Regions from separate parts of the Homo sapiens genome. Here regions 1, 2, 3, 4, 6 and 7 are each linked to region 5. The links are contacts of gene promoters, found by promoter capture Hi-C in human tissues and cell types (Jung and others, 2019). All regions are on one chromosome and are shown on one strand. Each heading gives the region's core, a stretch centred on a gene start or on the middle of the fragment in contact. The rest is flanking DNA. Distances are from core to core; before and after follow the strand shown. Region 1 overlaps DLEU2 (deleted in lymphocytic leukemia 2). Region 2 has its middle 16 kb from the start of SPRYD7. Region 3 overlaps DLEU2 (deleted in lymphocytic leukemia 2). Region 4 overlaps CAB39L (calcium binding protein 39 like). Region 5 holds the start of EBPL (EBP like). Region 6 has its middle 26 kb from the start of MIR3613. Region 7 overlaps CDADC1 (cytidine and dCMP deaminase domain containing 1).

Evidence for each region. The method cuts DNA at HindIII sites, captures the fragments that hold promoters and counts their contacts. A contact is called where the count stands out against the background at its distance.
Region 1: a contact is called between a fragment that was not itself captured here and the fragment with the promoter of EBPL in region 5, in 1 of the 25 tissues and cell types used here (hippocampus).
Region 2: a fragment that was not itself captured here is called in contact with the fragment with the promoter of EBPL in region 5 in 2 of the 25 tissues and cell types used here (IMR-90 fibroblasts and aorta).
Region 3: a contact is called between a fragment that was not itself captured here and the fragment with the promoter of EBPL in region 5, in 1 of the 25 tissues and cell types used here (aorta).
Region 4: a fragment that was not itself captured here is called in contact with the fragment with the promoter of EBPL in region 5 in 1 of the 25 tissues and cell types used here (lymphoblastoid cells).
Region 6: a contact is called between a fragment that was not itself captured here and the fragment with the promoter of EBPL in region 5, in 1 of the 25 tissues and cell types used here (hippocampus).
Region 7: a fragment that was not itself captured here is called in contact with the fragment with the promoter of EBPL in region 5 in 1 of the 25 tissues and cell types used here (dorsolateral prefrontal cortex).

What each region holds. Positions count from the first base shown.
Region 1 is chr13:50,098,181-50,101,224 of GRCh38, forward strand. All of the region lies in intron 1 of DLEU2 (deleted in lymphocytic leukemia 2), which reads right to left. All of the region lies in intron 2 of DLEU1 (deleted in lymphocytic leukemia 1), which reads left to right. It also overlaps the pseudogene RPL18P10. Among named protein-coding and RNA genes, the nearest start is that of DLEU1, 18 kb to the left of the region's middle. The HindIII fragment of the contact is 3,724 bases long and covers 1-3,044 here.
Region 2 is chr13:49,951,118-49,954,375 of GRCh38, forward strand. No RefSeq gene overlaps it. Among named protein-coding and RNA genes, the nearest start is that of SPRYD7, 16 kb to the left of the region's middle. The HindIII fragment of the contact is 5,612 bases long and covers 1-3,258 here.
Region 3 is chr13:50,075,448-50,078,823 of GRCh38, forward strand. It overlaps DLEU2 (deleted in lymphocytic leukemia 2), which reads right to left. Exons shown (of 14, transcript NR_152566.1): 2 at 112-206. Among named protein-coding and RNA genes, the nearest start is that of DLEU1, 5.0 kb to the right of the region's middle. The HindIII fragment of the contact is 4,740 bases long and covers 1-3,376 here.
Region 4 is chr13:49,363,793-49,366,824 of GRCh38, forward strand. All of the region lies in intron 5 of CAB39L (calcium binding protein 39 like), which reads right to left. Among named protein-coding and RNA genes, the nearest start is that of CAB39L, 79 kb to the right of the region's middle. The HindIII fragment of the contact is 5,875 bases long and covers 1-3,032 here.
Region 5 is chr13:49,690,011-49,693,187 of GRCh38, forward strand. EBPL (EBP like) reads right to left here and starts at 1,476. Exons shown (of 4, transcript NM_032565.5): 1 at 1,244-1,476. The coding sequence starts at 1,414. RefSeq lists an enhancer at 771-1,768 and silencers at 1,232-1,371, 1,402-1,601. The HindIII fragment of the contact is 15,697 bases long and covers 1-3,177 here.
Region 6 is chr13:49,969,245-49,972,622 of GRCh38, forward strand. No RefSeq gene overlaps it. Among named protein-coding and RNA genes, the nearest start is that of MIR3613, 26 kb to the right of the region's middle. RefSeq lists a silencer at 3,361-3,378. The HindIII fragment of the contact is 5,900 bases long and covers 1-3,378 here.
Region 7 is chr13:49,250,728-49,253,816 of GRCh38, forward strand. The region is part of intron 2 of CDADC1 (cytidine and dCMP deaminase domain containing 1); the gene reads left to right. Among named protein-coding and RNA genes, the nearest start is that of CDADC1, 4.3 kb to the left of the region's middle. The HindIII fragment of the contact is 5,612 bases long and covers 1-3,089 here.

The DNA.
Region 1 (3,044 bases), core at 530-3,029, 410 kb after region 5:
TTAACTGCATCCCAGGACAAAACTCAGGAACATTTAGAGGAACAGAAGACTATCCAGCAGCCAACAGATAAAATTCACAATGCCTTGCCAGGCACACAAAGAAGCCAGAAAAAATAATCCACAATGATGAAAACAATCAATCATCTGAAAGTGACCTTAAGCAGAGAAAGATGTTAGAACTAGTAAAGACATTGAACATTATTATAGCTATATTCTATATTTTCAGAAAGTAGAGACATGAAAGACATTTTTAAAAACTCAATGCAGTTCTAGGGATGAAAACTACAATATCTGAGATCTACTAATGGTATTTGTAGCAGATTAGACATGGCAGAAGAAAAGGTTAGTGAACTTGAAGGATATAGCAAAAGAAACTACTCAAAAATGAAAGAGAAAAAAGAATGACAAAAGCATCAGTGAGCTATGGGACAAACTTACAGAATCCTTATGTAAACATAATCAGAGGCATCAAAGGAGAGGAGAGGCAGATACAAAAGGGATATTTGAAAAAGTAATGGCCAGAATTTTCAAATTGGACAAAAACTATTAACTCACAGATCCAAGAAGCTCAACAAGAAGAAAACTACACCAAGGAATGTCATAATCAAATTATTCAAAGCCAATTATAAAAAATATGGAAAACAGCCACATGTTATAGAGTAACAAAGATAAGGTTGACAGCAGATTTCTCATTAGAAACATTGCAAGTGAAGAGACAGTAGAACATAAAGTACTGAAAGAAAAAAATGTTAACCTCAGCAAAATATCATTCAAAAAACAAAGGCAAAATAAAGATGTTTTCAGACATACGAAAACAACTCTTTACCATCAGGTAGACTGAAGGTAGACTGTGGTAGGGTGAAGATGTATACTGCCCTAGGGCAACCAGTAGAATAACAAAACAGTTATAGCTAATAAGTCAACAAAGGAGATAAGATAGAATCACAAAAAAATACTCAACCCAAAAGAAGGTGGAAAAAGGAACAAATAAGTAGTGAAACTAATAGAAAAATGGCAAGGCAATAGACTGTAATCATATCAGCAATCACATTAAATGCATATTATCTAAATATCCCACTTAAAAGGCAAAGATTGTCAGATAAAAAGCAAGACTGCTTTTGGACCTGGATGAACAGGAGGCACCATCACGGAAGTTGACTCCTGCCACAACAATGACTGAAAGGTTCAACACCAGGAACCCAAGAGCCAGGACATCTACTGAAGGCTGTTGGTTAAGCTGTATATGTTTCTGGCCAGAAGAAACTCTACCTTCAACCAAGTTGTGGTGAAGAGGTTATTTATGAGTTGCACCAAATGGCCATCTCTGTCTCTTTCCTGGATGATCTGGAAGATGAAGCTTCCTGGCCAGGAAAACAAAACAGCTGTGGTTGTGGGGACCATGTTCAGGAGGTGCCCAAACTGAAGGTGTGTGCACTGCACATGAGCAGTTGGGCCTGCAGCCAAATCCCCAAGGCTGGGGACAAGATTCTCACCTTTGACCAGCTGACCCTGGACACCCTCAAAGGCTGTGGCACCATCCTGCTCTCTGGGCCTCACAAGGGCCAAGAAGTGTACTGGCATTTCAGCAAGGCCCTGGGAACCCAGCATAGCCACACTAAGCCCTGTGTCCACTCCAGGGACCAGAAATTCAAGCACATCAGAGGCTGATGGGCCAGCCAAGGCTACAAAAACTAACCCTGGATCCTCTATCTTATTAAAAAGATTTTGGCCTGGGCGCAGTGGCTCATCCCTGTAATCCCAGCACTTTGGGAGGCCAAGGAGGGCAGATCACTTGAGCCTAGGAGTTCAAGACCAGCCTGGGCAACAAGTGAAACTCCATCTCTATAAAAAATTAAAAAAAAAAATTAGTTGGGTGTGGTGGTACATGCCTGTAGTCCCAGCTACTTGGGAGGCTGAGGCAAGAGGATCGCTTGAGCCCAGGAAGTCAAGGCTCCAGTGAGCCATGATCGTGCCACTGCACTCCACCCTGGGCGACAGAGTGAGACCCTGTCTTAGAACAAAACAAAACGAAACAAAAAATTTTGGATGGTGGGGGAAAGGAAAATAAAAAACAAGATCCAACTATATACTCTCAATAAAAAAACACATTTTAGGCTGGGTGTGATGGCTCCCAGCACTTTGGGAGGTCAAGGCAGGTAGATCACCGGAAGTCAGGAGTTCAAGACCAGCCTGGCCAACATGGCGAAATCTCGTCCCTACTAAAAATACAAAAATTAGCCAGGCATGGTGATGGGTGCCTGTAATCCCAGCTACTTGGGAGGCTGAGGCAGAAGAATTGGACGAATGCAGGAGGCAGAGGTTGCAGTGAGCAGAGATCATGCCACTGCACTCCAGCCTGGGAGACAAAACGAGATTCCGTCTCAAAAAAAAAAAAAAAAAAAAGAAAAAGAAACACATTTTACACACAAAGACATAATAACATTAAGAATAAAAGGATGACCAGGCACAGTGGCTCATGCCTGTAATCCCAGCACTTTGGGAGGTTGAGGCAAGAGGATCACTTGAGCCCATGAGTCTGAGACCAGCCTGGGCAATATGGTGAGATCCTGTCTCCACAAAAAATTAGCCAAGTGTGGTGGTGCACACCTGTAGTCCCAGCTACTTGGGAGGCTGAGGTGGGAGGATAGCTTGAACCCAGGAAGTCAAGGCTATAGGGAGTGGTGATCACGCCACTGTACTCCAGCCTGGAGTGACTCAAAGTACAGTCACTTTGAGACAGAGTGAGACTCTGTCTCAAAAAAAAAAAAAAAAAAAAAAAAAGGTAAAAGGATGGAAAAAGATATATCATACTGATGCTGGCATTAGTCAAAAGAAAACTGGTGTGGCTATATTAACATGAAATAAAGTAGATTTCAGAGCAAATAATATTACCAGGAATAAAGAAGGCCATTTTATAATAATAAAAGGGCTGGTTAATCAGAAGGATACAATAATCCTACATGGTTTTGTCTCAAATAATAAAAGCTTCAAAATATGTAAATCAAAAACTGACAGAAGTGCAAGGAAAAACAGACAAATCCATA
Region 2 (3,258 bases), core at 308-2,807, 260 kb after region 5:
AAATTTGTAAACTTTCCTAAAACATTATGAGATTTTTTTTTTTTTTTTTTGAGATGGAGTTTCACTCTTGTTGCCCAGGATGGAGTGCAATGGTGTGATCTTGGCTCACTGCAGCCTCTGCCTCCCAGGTTCAAACGATTCTCCTGCCTCAGCCTCCCAAGTAGCTGGGAGTACAGGCATGAGCCATCACGCCTGGCTAATTTTGTATTTTTAGTAGAGATGGGGTTTCACCATTTTGACCAGGCTGGTCTCGAACTTCTGACCTCAGGTGATCCACCCATCTTGGCTGGGCGTGATGGCTCATTCCTGTAATCCCAACACTTTGGGAGGCCAAGGTGGGTGGATCACTTGGGGTTAGGAGTTCCAGACCAGACCGGGCAACATTGTGAAACCCCGTCTCTACTAAAAATACAAAAATCAGCTGGGCATGGTGGTGCATGCCTATAGTCCCAGCTACTTGGGAGGCTGATTCAGGAGAATCGCTTGAACCTGGGAGGTGGAGGCTGCAGTGAGCTGAGATTGCGCCACTGCACTCCAGCCTGGTCGACAGAGTGAGACTCCATCTCAAAAAGAAAGTAAAGGAATAAAGAATGGCTACCCCTTAGACTGCAGCCCTGAGGGCTGCTGGCTGCCCATTTTTATAGTTATTTCTTGATTATATGTTAAACAAGGGGTGGATTATTCATGCCTCCCCTTTTTAGACCATATAGGATAACTTCCGGATGTTGCCATGGCATTTGTAAACTGTCATGGCACTGGTGGGAGTGTAGCAGTGAGGACGACCAAAGGTCACTCTTGTTGCCACCTTGGTGTTGGTAGGTTTTAGCTGGCTTCTTTACTGCAACCTGTTTTATCAGCAAGGCCTTTATGACCTGTATCTTGTGCCGACCTTCTATCTCATCCTGTGACTTAGAATGCCTGTCTGGAAATGTAGTCCAGTAGGTTTCAGCCTCATTTACCCAGCCCCTATTCAAGACGGAGTTGCTCTGGTTCAAATGCCTTTGACACAGCCTCTCAGACCCACCTTAGACTTCTAAACTCTAGAACTATAATATGAGAAAACTGTGTTGTTTTTTGTTTTGTTTTTACATTTACGGGTTTATTATAAAGGATATTACAAAAAATACACATGAAGAGATAGGTAGGGCAAGGTATGCGGGAAGGGGTGCGGAGCTTCTATGGATGCACCTCCCTGGATGCACCACCCTCCAGAAACCTCCAGCTATCCAGAAACTCACTGAACCTTGTCCTCTTGGGTTGTAATGGAAGCTTCATGACATCAGCATTCCTTCCCCCAGGGTATAGGGTGGTACTCTCTCATGAGAAGGTCTTAAGATCTATAATCAGACAGGTTGGGGAACATTAGAGTGGAAGGAGGGTGGGAGGTCAGAGGCCTGCCCCTGAGTCTTAACCCACCATATATGTGTGTGTGTGTGTGTATATATATACACACACACACACACACACATATATAAATATATATATATATATATATATTTTGAGATGGAGTCCCACTCTGTTGCCCAAGCTGGAGTGCAGTGGCACAATCTTGGCTCACTGCAACCTCCACCCCCAGGGTTCAAGCAATTCTCCTGCCTCAGCCTCCCAAGTAACTGGGATTATAAGTGCGTGCCACCATGCCCAGCTAACTTTGTATTTTTAGTACAGATGGGGTTTATCCATGTTGGCCAGGCTGGTCTCGAACTCTTGACCTCAAGTGATCCACCTGCCTCGGCCTCCCAAAGTGCTGGGATTACAGGTGTGATCCACCGTGCCCAGCCCTAACCCACCCAATATTCTAACAAAAAACTGTAACAAGCACTATGGGAGTTGGAGCCAGGAACTGTGGACAAAAACCAATATATAGCGTAACACCACACGCCATCCTCTGGTTTTCAACCATGGATCCTTTACATAAAATATATGTTTTATTAATGATTATGTATACATACATACACAATCATTAATAATCAATCCAGCCCATTATACTGTTCGAATGATTCCCAGGATGAGGCCACTCGGGTTTACAGGTTTCCTCTCAATCTTGTCAGGTTCCAAAAGCAGAAGTGGCCTCGGTAAATACACAGCTTCACCTTTTCAGGCATCTGGAATAATTGAGCTACGAGAAAATGTCATCTCTTGCCCTGAGACTCTTTTGACTTGTTAATGTGATATTGAATTTTCCTCAATTAATAACTCATTTATTTATTTGAGAGAGGTTCTGGCTCTGTCACATAGGCTGGAGTGCAGTGGCATGATCTCTGCTTACTGCAGCTTCAACCTCCCAGGCTCAAGTGATCCTCCCACCTCAGCCTCCTGAGTAGCTGGGACCACAGGTATGCACTACCATGCCTGGCTACTTTTTGTTTTTGTTTTTTTTTCCTGTAGAGATAAGGTCTCCCAGTGTTGCCCAGGCTGGTCTTAAACTCCTGGGCTCAAGCAGTCCTCCTGCCTTGATGTCCCAAGGTTTCGGGATTAGAGGCATGAGCCAATGTGCCCAGCTTTATTTATTTATTTACTCTCAGCTATTATTTTTCCTTCTGTCCATTAATACCCAAACCTTTTCACCTTTGGAAGGGACATTAGAATCACCACTATGCTGGTCTAGATTGCAGGTAGCAATACAAGTCTAGCAAGTATCTCCTCCTCAATACAGGTCTAGCAAGTATCTCACTCCCATTCACATAGGGTAAGGTTACACAGGTACAGAACTAGTGAGCTCTTTTCAACACCAGGCAATATAGCTGCATTCACTCTTAGCCCCAATTTTGCTAGATGGGGTGAAGGCACAATCCACCCCCATCTGCCCTTAGAAATTTTGACATAGCTTTAAAAACATAGGCTTTTTTGCCTAGAACTCACCCTTGCTGTTCTAGCACTTGTAGTTGCAGCTGTGGTCTTGGGACCACCGCATCAGGTAGGGGAGAGAAAAAAAAATTTTTTTTTTTCTTTTTGAGACAGTGTCTCACTCTGTCGCCCAGGCTGGAGTGCAGTGGCATCATCTCGGCTCACTGCAAGCTCTGCCTCCTCGGTTCACGCCATTCTCCTGCCTCAGCCTCCCGAGTGGCTGGGACTACAGGCGCCCGCTACCACGCCCGGCTAATTTTTTGTATTTTTAGTAGAGACGGGGTTTCACCAGGTTAGCTGGGATGGTCTCGATCTCCTGACCTCATGATCTGCCTGCCTCGGCTTCCTGAAGTGCGGGGATTACAGGCTGAGCCACTGTGCCCGGCCGAGAAAAAATTTTTTGAGGTGATT
Region 3 (3,376 bases), core at 34-2,533, 390 kb after region 5:
GTAATTACTTATTGATTTTAGTTCACGTAAAAATTTCAACTTTACCAATTGTCTAGTCCGATTATATTGCAAAGACATAAAATTATATGGTTTTAAAATTTGTTAGTATACCTTAATCTCATGTCATGTTCCAATGCATTATGTAAGTATTCAATCAAAGAAGTGAGGCTGTTCTCCAGAATTGGTTCTCTGCTACAGGTCAAAACCTGCAATAAAAATGTCATGTATTATAGCATGAAGACACTCAACAGATTTCCATCTCCTGCAGTTCCACAGTTGATCCCTGAACACAGAGGTATGGTCTTCAAAATGACCCTAATCTTGCCAATGTTCAGAGAAGCTCTAACTTGAAAATGTTTTAAAAATAGAAATAACTTGATTAGAAACACCTGTGATATGCTTTATCATCCGAAGCCTCTTCAAACAAATCAGATTAATATGTTTCTGCTTTCATTTCTCTTTAGGGCATTCATGTTCAAAGTAGTATGGGTGAGTGTGTATGCGGGTAGCTGTTAGAGGACTGGTACAAGAGGAGTTCATAAAGAAAATATCAGAAATGTAGTTTGTACTTGTAAAACTCATAAAATCCACACAGTTTAAAAAGTTACTGAAGGGACAGGGACGAAATTTTACTTTCTCTCCAAATTATCAAATGTTTTAATGATGACAGAATTTACCATTCTTTTTTTTTTTTTTTTTTTTTGAGACGAAGTTTTGCTCTTGTTGACCAGGCTGGAGAGCAATGGTGCGATATAGGATCACTGCAACCTCTGCCTTCTGGATTCAAGGGATTCTCCTGCCTCAGCCTCCCGAGTAGCTGGGATTACAGGTGCCTGCCACCATGCCTGGCTAAGAATTTACCATTATTTTCAACTTTAGTCTACTGCCAAGCCTAAGTGAAAAGTATCAGTATTTCCAAATATTTTAATACATTACAGTCCTAACAGACCAAAATGTGGAGTTTTTTTTTTTTTAACAAGTTAACATATTTACAAATAATAAATGGACCACTACTGGACCAAATGGTTTTTTAATGTTTCTAAGAGATGTAACTGAATATATGTTAAGTGTTTTTTTTCATTTCTTTCACCTTTCTGAATTATAATGATTCAGTGGCAATCGACTGTATAAAAATATTAAATTACCAAAGGTGTATCATGTATTACATGTAAATCATAATGCTCTGAATAAATTTTCCAGTTATATTTAAGAATAGCTTAGGAAAATGAAAGAGTAAAACCTAAAAAAACCTTTATTCCTCTGTTGCCAAATATTTGATTGTTTAATGACAAAACCCACACAATCATCCATAACTCATAAACACCAATCCAAATACCATGACATTTTAAAAAATTACCGTCATTTATACACAGTCTTCCTCAAAAGACAGACAGTTTTCTATATTTGAGCACTCTGAAAATTAAGGTATCTTAAGTTTAAAAATCATAGAAGGAAAATAGTAGAAAACAAAATGTACTACATGCCAAATGTTAAGTTTTTAAATAGTAGGGAGATGAAAAATACTAACCAATAAGAAGCAAAAGAGGTCTGGATATAAATAAAATAATAAACCAATGTGTATGATAAAAAAGGCAATATTAAAAAACCTTCAAATAGTAAAACTCAAATCTAAAATCTATTACAAAATAGAGCTTACTATTTATTCTTAGAAACCACTACAAGTTATTCCAGTACAAATTTTCTTTACTGAAATAAGGCAGGATTAACCAAAGGTATAGTAAACTTCTTATAATTTGATAAGAAATATTAATAATATTCAAATATATATTTAATATCAATTTCAATATTTAAAACTTGTCTTTCTAAAAGGAAGATCCTTTAAAGCATCTCTAATACAGATCAAAAAATAAAAACAAAAAACCAACCGAGGCAAAAAAATAAAAAACATTCAGTTCCCCACCAGAAAGTAATATTTATATGATCTACGAGATAAATAAACATATAATAGTAATGTGATATTCTAAAAATCTATCCTGTTACTCTTAAGACAATCATGACATTAAAGTTCTAATACTGTCACTTCCAAAAATTAAATGCTTAATCTCATTTTCAATGCTTATTTGAAATAAAGTGGTATTTTATTACTGATTTCCTTTGGTGTTATGAGATTTGGGGCTACAAAATTTCAGCAAGTCATAGTTGAGCTCTAATTATGTGCCAAAATTAGTTGCCTGGCATACAATGTTTCAAAGTTTGCTGAATTAAAAACAAAACAAAACCAAAAACCCCCACGAAACTATATATATGACAATTTTTTCTAAGATGTGTTTTCTAGTTATAATCAGACCTAAAATCTGTGTCTTCTAAAAAGGGGTTAAAAAGAAATTAATATGTGAATTTTTAAGCTTCATTAGACAGAAGAAAAAAAACACAAGAGCCAATTTTAGGTAATATTTTAAAATAAGAGAAATTTTTATAGAATAATTTTTTGAAACTATAAATTTATCATCTTCTTTTGAAGAAAGCTAATGTGTCATATATAATAATTATCTAATACAGTCTCTGGGAATTTTTTTTCATTTTGTAAACCAAATCAACTGACCCATATTTCTGGCTTTAAGTATTCTGTGACATTCCAAATAGTTACTACCTACCAATAAACAAACAAACAAACAAAAATACACACAAGTCTCCACAAAACAAAACAAACGAAAATGTACTACATAAAGCATGATGAAACCAGGAATCTAGACTATGAAAGCTACTTTAAAATTTTTATCCTTAGCTGTAGTTCATGCTAAACATTAAAACTCATATTAATCTGATTAGAAAAAATATGCAGTGTTACATACAAACACCCGAGGCTACATTTTCTGAATGTACAACTAAGACAGGTCAACAGTATTTTTTTAAAAAGTCTGAAACTGCACTTTTATTTGAATTTTTAAAAATAGTGTGGGGGCAAACAAATGAAAATCAATGCTACCAGGAAGACTGATACCTTACCAGTCCCCTTTCCCCCACAATAGGTAAACATAACTTTAAAAAGGGGTGACCTATTATAGCAACACCACACCCCGCAGTTGCTTTCCTATGGTAATAAATGACTTTGTAATACAAAATAAATTACAACTGTCAATTTCTACAGAGAAATATGGATAAGTGCACATAAACATTAAAAAATACACATATGTTGTAACTTATACCTATATGCCCACAAGTCTAAAACCAAAATCTTCCTCTTATATAGCATCACATAAAAGTGAAAATATTTTGAATGCTGTGGATTTTATTTAGGCGCTAGTGTATTCTCAAATTTGAAGTGATGTATTTTAAATAAAGGAATCACTTCTTTTAAAAATGGCTTATTAAACAAACAATCCTTTACCCATTACCCCCTAAACAAACAAAAAAT
Region 4 (3,032 bases), core at 189-2,688, 330 kb before region 5:
AGCCTGGATGACAGAGTGAGACCCTGTCTCAAAAAAAAAAAAAAGAAAAGAAAAAGAAAAAAGACACAGAATGGCTGAATGGATGAAAAAAAAACAAGACCCAAATGATCTGCTGCCTACAAGAAACACATCTCACCTATGAAGATACACATGGACTGAAAATAAAGACATGGAAAAAGATATTCCATGCTAATGAAAACAAACAAACAAAACCAAGCAGGAGTAGCTATACTTACATCAGACAAAACAGATTTCAAGACAAAAACTGTAAGAGGAGACAAAGAAAGTCATTATATAATAATAAAGGAGTCAGTTCAGCAAGAGGATTTAACAATTGTAAATATATATGCACCAAACACTAGAGCACCCAGATATGTAAAGCAAATATTATTAGAGCTAAAGTGAGAGACACATCCCAATACAACAATAGCAGATCTTAGACCTGGGACATGATAACTTTTACCACTGTTACTCAACATAATATTGGAAGTCTTAGCTAGAGCAATCAAACAAGAGAATGAAATGAAGGGCAAATATTATTAGAGCTAAAGTGAGAGACAGATCCCAATACAACAGTAGCAGATCTTAGATTTGGAGCATGACAACTTTTACCACTGTTATTCAACATAATATTGGAAGTCTTAGCCAGAGCAATCAAACAAGAGAATGAAATGAAGGGCATCCAAATTGGTAGGGAAGAAGTCAAATTATCCTTGTTTGCAGATGATAAAACCTTATATTTGGAAAAAACTAAAGACTCCACAAAAAAACTATTAGAATTGATGAACAAATTCAATAAAGTTGCAGGATACAAAAATCAACATACAAAAATCAGTAGCATTTCTATATGCTAACAGTGAACAATCTGAAGAAGAAATCAAAAAAGAAATCCCATTTATAATAGCAACAAATAAAATTAAATACCTAGAAATTAACTTAACCAAAGAAGTAAAAAAATCTCCATAATGAAAACTATAAAAAAATGGATGAAAGAAATTAAAAAGGACATGCAAAAAAGGAAAGATATTCCGTGTCCATGGATTGAAAGAAACAATATTGTTAAAATGTTCATACTACCCAACGTAATCTACAGGTTCAATGCAATCCCTATCAAAATACCAATGACATTCTTCATCGAAATAGAAAAAACCATCCTAAAATTTACATGGAACCACAAAAAACCCAGAATAGCCAAAACCATCATGAGCAAAAAGAACAAAACTGAAGAAATCACATGACTTGACTTTGAATTATACTACAGAGCTATATAGTAACCAAAACAGCATGATACTGGCATAAAAATAGACACACAGACCAATGGAACAGAACAAAGAATCCAGAAACAAATCTACACACCTACAGTGAACTCATTTTTTACAAAGGTGCTGAGAACATACATTGAGGGGAAAAGACAGTCTTCAACAAATAGTGCAGAGAAAACTGAATATCCACATGCAGAAGAATGAAATTAGACCCCTATCTCTTGTCACATACAGAAATCAAATCAAAATGGATTAAAGACTTATATCTAAGATCTATGAAACTATGAAGCTACTAAAAGAAAATATTGGGGAAACTCTCCAGGACATTGGTCTGGGCAGAAACTTCTTGAGCAAAACCCCACAAGCACAGGCAATCAAAGCAAAAATGGACAAATGGGACCACATCAAATTGAAAAGCTTCTGCACAGTGAAGGGTACAATCAACAAAGTGAAGAGAAAACCTACAGAACACAGGCCTTCTATGAAAAGGTGCTCAACATCACTGATTATCAGAGAAATGCAAATCAAAACTACAACGAGATATCCTCTCACGACAGTTAAAATGCCTTTCATGTAAACGTCAGGTAACAACTATTGCTGGTGAGGATGTGGGGAAAAGGAACCCCTCATATGCTGTTGGTAGGAATGTAAATTAGTACAACTACTATGGAGAATAATTTGGAGGTTCCTCAAAAAACTACAAATAGAGATACCATATGATTTAGCAATCCTACTCTTAGGTATATGCCCAAAAGAAAGGAAATCAGTATATCAAAGAGATATCTACACTCCCATATATGTTGCAGTATTGTTCACAATAGCCAAGATTTGGAAACAACCTAAATGTCCAAAAACAGATGAGAAAATGCGGATAAAGAAAATGTGGTACCCTATACACAATAAAGTACTATTCAGTCATAAAAAGGAATGAGATTCTGTCATTGCAACAACATGGATGGAACTGGAGGCCATTATGTTAAGTGAAATAAACCAGGCATAGAAAGACAAACATCAGATGTTCTCAGTTATTTGTGGGATCTAAAAATTAAAACAAGTGAACTCATGAAAATCAAGAATAGAAGCATGGTTACCAGAGGCTAGGAAGGGTAGCAGGGGAGTGTGTCAGGGTGAGATGGGGATGGTTAATGGGTACAAAAAACAATAGAAACAATGAATAAGATCTAGTAACACCAAGGATAAATGCTTGAGAGGATGGATACCCAATTTTCCATGATGTGGTTATTACACATTACATGCCTGTACTAAAATATCTCATATACACTACCTACTATGTACCCACAAAAATTAAAAAGAAAAAAAGAGAAAAAAGAAATAAATAAAAACCCATGCTCTCACGAGGTCAGGAGTTTGAGACCAGCATGGCCAAGATGGTGAAACCCCGTCTCTACTAAAAATACAAAAATTAGCTAGGCTTGGTGGCACGCACCTATAATCCCAGCTACTCAGGAGGCTGAGGCAGGGGAATCGCTTCAACCCAGGAGGCAGAGGCTGCAGTGAGCTGACATCGTGCCATTGCACTCCAGCCTGGGCAACAAGAGCGAAACTCTGTCTAAAAAAAAAAAAAAAAAAAAAAACCCATGCTCTCCAAACACCCTCCCTCCAAAACCCAACCCCCCATCAAAGCCCAAAAAACTTAATAGTATGAAAAACAAACAATCTGCCAGGCATGGTGGCTCACACATGTAATCCCAGCACTTTAGGAAGCTAAGGCAGGCAGATCACCAGAGGTCAGGAGTTCGAGACCAGCCT
Region 5 (3,177 bases), core at 226-2,725:
GTGGTGACGGGCGCCCGTAATCCCAGCTACTCGGGAGGCTGAGGCAGGAGAATAGCTTTAACCCAAGGGGCGGAGGTTGCAGTGAGCCGAGATAGTGCCACTACACTCCAGCCTGGGCAACAGTGTTAGACTCTGTCTCAAGAACAACAACAAAAAAAAAGACAAAAAAAAAAAAAAAGAATTCTATAAATAAAGGAGTTGAGAGAAACATTCACTGTCCCTTATCTCTACATGTTGATTATCAGAATAAAAAGAATTCCAGCAACATCAGTCATGGGCACAAAGCCAACCCGTAAACATTTACAGAACTCGATGATTACCCAAAACTCGGCTTGCTTTCTCAATACTACTGACTTTGGCTTCACATTAGCCACAGGTGTGTCTAGAGTTAAACAAGGTCAACTTTACAAAAAAAAAAAAAAACAAACTGATACTTGGGCATAGTTTAAAAAAAACTTAAAAGTGTGTGTGTGTGTGTGCGTGCGCGTGTGTGGTGGGGGGCGGGGCATTTCAATATAAATGCCTTAAACACAACCTTCCTGGCTATTTTATAAAATGGGTTGAATCTCTAAGGACACATATTTCCTAAGACCTCGACTGATACACAGAGTGCAAACTTGGGAGCCAGACTAGACTGCCTCAGAATCATGCCAGCTGTGTGGCACTGGAAAGTCACCTAATTTTGCAGCGCCTACCTTCACCTCTGTAAAATGGGGAACAATAATAACTAATTTATGGATGCTGTAAAGATCTGAAATTTTAAACTCAGTAATGCGCCTGGCACACATTAGACACGGGTGTTTCGTTTGTCTTGGCAAAGGCTTCGGGTTTTGCGACAATAGCCTTGCTGCCTCCGGAGCAAGCATCTCTCCTTGCCCCCTCTGGGGCATTTAAAAATGACCTCAATTCTACTCTCAATTATGTCCAGTTCAACAGTTACGTGCAGGTTACAAAGCCGAGGAAGCTGAGGTATCTTCTAAACTAACATAGCACGTACAGAATTTTTTTAAAGTTTGGTGGAGGAATCGGCAGCACAAGGTAAGCTGCGCTCTGTTCACAGACCTGGGAATCAGAACTCCGGCCGCCGCGGCCTCCAGGCGCCTCTCAGCTAACAGACTTCCTGCAGCAGGGGGAGGGGCGGCCAGCTCGCTGCAAAAAGCCGCAGGACCCCCTCACCCCGCCTTGCCGCCCCCGCTCCCACTCTCTGGGATGGGGAGTGCAGGGTCTAGGCGATGGCACTTACCAGCGCGAAGTGCACCAGCGCGTCGTAGCAGAGCCAGATGAGCGCCCCGCGGTCCGCCGCCCCCTGCCCGCGGCCCAGGCGCAGGCCCAGGGCGCAGCCCGCCGCCAGCAGCGCGGCGCACAGCAGCAGCGAACCGCCAGCCTCGGCCCCCAGCTCCCACTCAGCGCCCATGCTTCAGGCTTCCGACGCCAACGGCCCAGGACCATGCGGCAGAGGAAAGCAGGGAGAGAAACGACGGGGCGGGGCTGGCCGGGAAGGGGCGGAGCCGGATGGCCAAGGAGGAGCGGAGCTGATTGGCCAAGGCGGTCCGGGGAGGGACGGGGCTCCCCGGCCGGGTCGGGGCCAGAGCGAGGATTCCGTGCCCGCCTCGCACCCTGGCCAGCCTGCTGAGTCCGGTGGTTTTGCCAGGTGCCGCCCATGGAGGTTCCGTAGAAGGAACGTGCTCACCAACTTGCGCAACCGCCTCGACCAAACCTGTTCCCAAACCGAGCCCAAAGGATTGGTAATAGGGCCACACCTTTTGATGTTGTTTCGCTTTTAACAAGGCTCAAACTTTAAGCCACAAAGTGAAGCCTAGGTAGTGGAAATTTTGCCAGTAGACCGGGGCAGAATTTTAGGGGCAAAAGGTTTTAATTAGGCTGCAGCAAGCCTTACCAGGGAGGCTGGGGGCCAAGGGAGTTTTCAGCCACCAGCCGGCTTAAAGCCTTTATGGCCTACTCTGACAATCTTTCCATTTCTTAAAAATCCAGAAAAGTAGAAGGGTGGGTGAGAGGAGCGGTAAGTCCTATTGGCTTGGCGATAGATGCGTTTAACCTGTGGCAGGCCAGGTTTCACTATCGCAGGCCTCCATCACAACTGCTTCAGCACTGAGTGGTTAAATTAAATATTAAAAGCTGAGGCCGGGCGCGGTGGCTCACGCCTGTAATCCCAGCACTTTTTGCCAAGGCGGGCGGATCACGAGGTCAGGAAATCGAGACCATCCTGGCTAACACGGCGAAACCACGTCTCTACTAAAAATACAAAAAATTAGCCGGGCGTGGTGACGGGCGCCTGTAGTCCCAGCTACTCCGGAGGCTGAGGCAGGAGAATGGCGTGAACCCGGGAGGCGGAGCTTGCAGTGAGCCGAGATCGCGCCACTGCACTCCAGCCTGGGCAACAGAGCGAGACTCCGTCTCAAAAAACAAAAAAAAAATTAAAAGCTGAAAGAGTCAGTGCCCATATACCAAAGTCTGGAATGTAACAAAAGCCCACCAAGAGTTTTGCCTAGGCCTTTCTTGGGCCTTGAAGCATGACAAGATAACTAAGGAATTTTTAACAGGACCCGTTTAGGATTAAACAAGTTTTATTGGGGGTCTGAAGAAACTCCCCAGGCCTCCAAAAACAAGTTTATTGGGAGTCTGGAGGAATTCCACAAGCCTCCATGATTTAGCAAGAGACAAAATAAGGGTAATCATCCCAGCACCCAGACCTATTTAGATTAAGTAAATTTACTGAGGCTCCAGAGGAAGGTCTTCAGGATTAGAAGTTGTTAATCACTTACGTCTTTAGATGAATGCACTCTTACACGTAGACATATAGCTTAGAAGGTATATACGCTCTGGAAAAACTTTGTAATTATGAGTTGGTCTGGCAATAATTTCCAGACCTTCTCCCTGTAACCGGTTGCAGAAATAAAAACTCTTCTTCCCCAGTTCATCTGCACCTCATTATTGGGCTGCCCAACCCCCAGTTTGGTCCGGGAACAAACCTACATTATTTAACATCACAACAACCCTATGAGGTCGGTGAAATAAGCCAGTCACAAAAACATACTTATGATTCCACTTACAGGAAATATCTAAAATAATCAATTTGCAGAAACAAAATAGAATGATGGTTACCAGGGGTGGGGCGGGGCGGGAGTGGGGGGGGGGCGCGGGGAAAAGTGGAGTGTT
Region 6 (3,378 bases), core at 176-2,675, 280 kb after region 5:
GAATATATAAAGAACTCTTTAGCCATAACAATAATAAAACAAATAATTAAACTTAAAACTGTGCAAATGTCTGTCTTCCCCAAAGAAGATGTATGGATGGCAAATAAACATAGGGAAAGATATTCAACATCATTAGTCATGAAGGATATGCAAATTAAAACCACAATGGGATACCACTATGCACCTATTACAATGGCTAAAATAAAGAACTGAATACAAAATATTGGCCTTGATGTGGAGTAACAGAGTCATTCATTGCTGGTGGAAATACAAAATGGTACAGCCACTTTGGAAAAACAAATTTGGCAGTTTCTTATAAAGTTAAGCATATACTTATGTGACCCAGCAATCTCACTTCTAGGTATTTATCCAAGTGAAATGAAAGCTTACATTCATACAAAAACATGTATATGACTAGTTATACATAATTTTCCCAAAATGAGCAATCGAAAATGATAAATTGTGATAATCCATATAATGGAATACTACTCAGCAATAAAAAGGAACAGATTACTGATTCATACAAAAACATGGGTGAATCTTAAAATGCATTTTCCTAAGAAGATCATTATTGGGGCTGGGTGATGGGTACAGGAGGATTGATTATTCTATTTTTGTGTGTGATTGAAAATTTCCATAATAAAAGTTTTAAAAGTGTATTTTAATACGGTATTTTTTAATGATATCACAATGTCCAGGTACTGCACAGATGAGACTGAAGTTCCACGTTCTAAAGCCAGAAGCTGCATCTGAAATGTTGCATAGAAAACTGCTCATTGGCTGGGCGCGGTGGCTCACACCTGTAATCTCAGCACTTTGGGAGACTGAGGCGGGCGGACCACGAGGTCAGGAGATGGAGACCATCCTGGCTAACACAGTGAAACCCCGTCTCTACTTAAAATACAAAAAATTAGCCGGGCGTGGTGGTGGGTGCCTGTAGTCCCAGCTACTCGGGAGGTAGAGGCAGGAGAATGGTGTGAACCCGGGAGGCGGAACTTGCAGTGAGCCGAGATCACGCCACAGCACTCCAGCCTGGGCGACAGAGTGAGACTCCATCTCAAAAAAAAAAAAACAAACAAAAAACTTAGGTGGGCATGGTGGCAGGCACCTGTAATCCCAGCTACTTGGGAGGCTGAGGCACGAAAAATCGCTTGAAACCAGGAGGCAGAGGTTGCAGCGAGCTGAAATTGCACCATTGCACTCCAGCCTGGGCGACAGAGCGAGACTCCATCTCAATTAAAAACAACAACAACAACAACAAACTGCTCATTACATAAAGATCCAATCTGGTAATATAAATTTTATTTTATTAAGATATATACTTAGCACTTTGAATTGCTTCAAACATAATTTGAGGGGAACAAAGACTTATTGGCTTGTTGGTTTTAAGAACTGAATTTGCCTAGGCATTAGAAAAAGTACAGAAAGCTCCCCAGAGCAGTCTAGAGCCCAGCAGTCGCAGGCCCCTAGGCCATTTGAGTTATAGGACAGAAGGTGGGGGTGTCAGTGAACACTATTCCTTCTGAGTGTCTGTCAATGGAGGTTGCATGTGAAACAGGAAAGAGGTTTGCTGAGGCTCTATGTTTATGTTTGCCTTTTCTTCAACTGGAGACTGAAGTTTGAGAATAGCAAGTAAGCACGTAATCATTCTCCTAGATCTCATTACTTGAGATCTTTTTTTTTTTTTTTTTTGAGACAGGGTCTGGCTCTGTTGCCCAGGCTGGAGTGCAATGGGACAATCTCAGCTCACTGCAACCTCTGCCTCCCAGGCTCAAACCATCTTCCCATCTAAGCCTCCCAGGTAGCTGGGACCACAGCCGTGTGCCACCATGGTGGGGTAATTTTTGTATTTTTGGTAGAGACAGGGTTTCGCCATGTCACCCAGGCTGGTCTTGAATTCCTAGCTTCAAGCAATCCTCCTGCCTCAGCCTCCCAGAGTAAAGGCGTGAGCCACTGTGCTTGGCCTGAGATAATTTCTTAAGATGATGTATAATACCTCCCGCAATGATAGCTTCCCCGATGTAACACCTCCTGCAAGTTGTCCTGAGCTATTTTAAGCTGTAATCAGAATATATTGAAGATTCAACATTTTTATTGTCCTTGTCCTGTACCCCCAGCAATAAAAAAAAAAAAAAGACTTAAAAAAATTATGGGGCCTATCGGCTGGGTGTGGTGGCTCATGCCTGTAATTGCAGCACTTTGGGAGGCTGAGGTGGGCGGATCACCTGAGGTCGGGAGTTCAAGACCAGCCTGACCAACATGGAGAAACTCCATCTCTACTAAAAATACAAAATTAGCCAGGTGTGGTGAGCATGCCTGTAATCCCAGCTACTTGGGAGGCTGAGGCAGGAGAATCACTTGAACCCGGGAGGCGGAGGTTGCAGTGAGCCAAGATCAAGCCATTGCACTCCAGCCTGGGCGACAAGAGCAAAACTCCGTCTCAAAAAAAAAATTATGGGGCCGGGCGCGGTGGCTCAGTCCTATAATCCTAGCACTTTGGGAGGTAGAGGTGGGCAGGTTACTGGAGCCCAGGAGTTCAGGACCAGCCTGGGCAACATTGTGAAACCCTGTCTCTACAAAAAAGCTACTCTGGAGGCTGAGGCAGGAGGACTGCTTGAGCCCGAGGTTGAGGCTGCAGTGAGCCGAGATTGTGCCACCGCACTCCAGCCTGGGTGACAGAACAAGACTCCGTCTCAATTAAAAAAAAAAAAAAGGAAATTTCTGAAGTGATAGTAATGTTCTATGTCTCGATAGCAATTTGGGATACAAAGGTATAGGCATTTATTATTATTAAAACTTGGAAATTTACACACAAGCACATAAGATTTATACATTTCATTGTATACATATTTTACTTCAAAAGAAAAAAGTCAACAAATATTTAACCTAGTCAATGATATACATGCTGAGTTATTTAGGCGGAAGTCTACTGATGTCTACAATTTACTTTTAAATGCGCCCAAAAAAAAAAAAAACAGGGATTGACGAATGCTTAGAGAAAGGTACAGACATGTGATAAGCCAACTATAGTGAAATGTTAGTGGTAGTCTACATGGTAGGTATATGCTGTTCACTATAAAATTTTTTCAACTTTGCTCTGTTTGCAAATTTTCACAATAATATATTGGGGAAATGTCTAGAAATGTGATGCTACCCTAGGTCAGCAGGAACTGTGAAAGATTAGACCTGTATTCTGGTTCCCAGATGCTAGAGCCTTTATTTTTTTTGGGGGGGTGGAGGTGGAGTCTCACTCTGTCGCCCAGCCTGGAGTGCAATGGTGTGATCTCGGCTCACTACAACCTCCACCTCCCGGGTTCAAGTGATTCCCCTGCCTCAGCTTCCCAAGTAGCTGGATTACAGGCACCTTCCAGCATGCCC
Region 7 (3,089 bases), core at 61-2,560, 440 kb before region 5:
AATTTTAACAGGATGTGAGGATATTCGCTTCTCATAATAAAATGATATCTCTTGGTGTAGTTTCCTCCCCCAATTCCTATGTGAAGTGTTTTATAGATAGTAAAACATTATTTAAAATATTATACATCGTTATTCCATATTTCTCACCCTCATCCCCCCACTCTGGCTCTACATGTTATTAACGGCTGAGAAAGCTCTTCATTTCCTTCATTAATTTTGAAATTCCTTTATTCCTTCTACTTGTTAATAGTTTAGTATTATTTTATGAAAGTAGATTTCCAAGCTGTTAGGGATTTTATGTAGTGTTGTGTTTTTTTTGTTTTGTTTTGTTTTGTTTTCAGATAAAATTTATTTTGAAGAGCCAGATTAGAAACAAATATTTAGAGGTTTAAGACTTTTAGGCCGGGTGCAGTGGCTCATGCCTGTAATCCCAGCACTTTGGGAGGCCGAGGCAGGCAGATCACAAGGTCAAGAGATCGAGACCATCTTGGCCAACATGGTGAAACCCCGTCTCTGCCAAAAATACAAAAAGTAGCTGGGCGTGGTGGTGCGTGCCTGTAGTCCCAGCTACTTAGGAGGCTGAGGCAGGAGAAACACTTGAACCCAGGAGGCAGAGATTGCATTGAGCTGAGATCACGCCACTGCACTCCAGCCTGGCGACAGAAAAAAAAAGAAAAAAAAAAGAAAAAAAAACGTATAAAAACTGGACATATTAGAGATTGAATACAAATTTTGAAAAGGCGTTCTTTTTTTTGTAAATATCCAGATGTGATCTCGTTTTAGTTCTGTTTTTTTATATACACACCACATCCTGTGCTGAAATTAAGTTTTTTTTTTCAACAGGCACAAGTTGTATTTAATTAGTGAGAAATGACATTTATGTTTCTATTAGGAAGGAATTGATTGGCCAACTAATTGTTGAAGTTTATTTGCAAATAATACACACCCTACTGTTTCCTCATACTATATAGAGAAAGCTGTGGATCTGAGAAAACTGAGATGAAGCTTTCAGTTAGCATTTTGTTAAAAAAAATACTACCAAGGAAATTTCAAAACTATATTAGCAACAAAATTTTATACAACTTTATATCATGTTTAACAAAAGATCAAGGTTATGACTCTCATTTTCTCCCAAGCCAACAACTCTTAAGTTTTCCTGGCATCTCATTCCTTCATCTGGTGGGCACCATGGAAGTTTTCTAAATGAAAATAAATAAGTCTTTTGTTTCAGATATTTTATTTGGGATCTTATTTAGAAATCTGACTCATACGCATGTCTATTTAAGGCTTTTAAATGGAAAGTTATAACACATAGAAATGAGTACAGAAGGCATCAAAACAAAGAACATCCATGTCTTCAGAAAGCCAGGCAACCTGGAACTAGGATTGACTTGGCTATATGAAAGGTTATCACTCTTAGCTCCTGGTCCTGGAGCATGCCCAGCTCCTATTCACTGCATTGGTGTCTTTCCAGCTGTGCTCCCATACCCATGTGTCCTAGGACTACAACCCTCTCACCATGGTCTTGGGTAGGCCTTTACTTCTGTTCTTACCTACAGGGCTTGGGACTCCAAGGCACTTGGGGAGGGAGAGCCTCAGGATTACTCTGGCAGTGATCTGGGTGAAAGAGGCTTTTGCATGTTAACTTGGGAACTTGACTATCATTTTTAACATTGTTTATATGAGAAAAATGTGTTTTAAATTCCGAAAAGGGAGATTTACCAAGTATTTAGAACATGATTGTAGGTTGTCAATTACTTGTATATTTAATGTCAATAAAGCAGAAGTATATAATTTCATTAGTTCTTCTGATATCATGGCCATTGCAAAAAAGCAAGACCAATGATAGTGTGGGGGAAGAATACAGAATGAAAGGGAGCATATTGTACTCCACTTTTATAGTGTTATTTATTGTACAAACATTATCATTGAAACTGAATTTATAGCTGCAACATTTTTAAAAACTATTTTTTTCTCTTGGATTTCCTTTTTGTACTAGTTAATATCCACATAATTTTGCAGGTAGTTGCAGTCATAGCAGGAACACAATTTTGTATTTGACAGTTTTGGTACTGTTACAGGGTTGATAAGTTATTAATTTTAAATTATACAGTAAGAATACATCTAAATTTCATATGCATGTAGTATATGCTGCCATTGTGTTTATACTTGTGGAAATATTAAATTTCTCAAAATGTTGCCCAATTTTGTGCCTAATATTTCTTTACCATTTACTATAGTATATTTTTTCCAGTATTATTTGCACATGGTATTCTTAGAGTTGAGTACAAACTTTTTCCAATTAAGAGAAAAAAAGTCTTCTTTAAGCTAAAGTAATAAGATTGTTTCACTTAAATTCTTTAGTCTGCTTTTGTTGTACAGAGTAAATCACAGAAATACCAAGATGCAATTAGACATGTAATTGTATTGGAAATACTGCTTTTGATACTTTACCAACATTTGTCTTACTAAAAGTATTTTTATGAGTTACCAAAGTAATATATGTTTGTTATTTTTAAAATGGACAGAAGAAAAATTTTATCATAATTCCACCTCCTAGAGACTAATTACTTTTTAAAAATTGTTTCTCAGTCTTTTTTCTCTTACTTTCTTTACTTACATGAGATCATTTAACTCTGGATCCTACCCTTTTCACTTAACATAAGAAAATACTTATGCTGTAATGCTAGTATAAACATTGGAGCAGCACCTTAGTCTAGTAATTTAGAGTAGCCAGTGGTTTTACAGCCAGCCTGCCTGGGTTCAGACTCTGGCTCCGCCTCTTACTAGTTGTATAACTTTGGGTAACTCTACCTCTCTGTGTCAGCTTCCTCATCTGTAAAATGAAATGTTACTAGTATATACTACATGAGGCTTTTATGAGAAATGAATGAGTTAATATTTGTAAAGGTCTTAGTGCCTGGCACATGTTAGGTACTATGTGTTTGTTGTTGTTGTTGTTGTCTCCTTATTTATTTATTTGTTTATGTATTTATTTTAATAGAGATGTGGTCTTGCCATGTTGCCCAGACTGGTCGCTAACTCCTGGGCTCAAGCAGTCCACCCGCCTCAGCCTCCCGAAGTGGTAG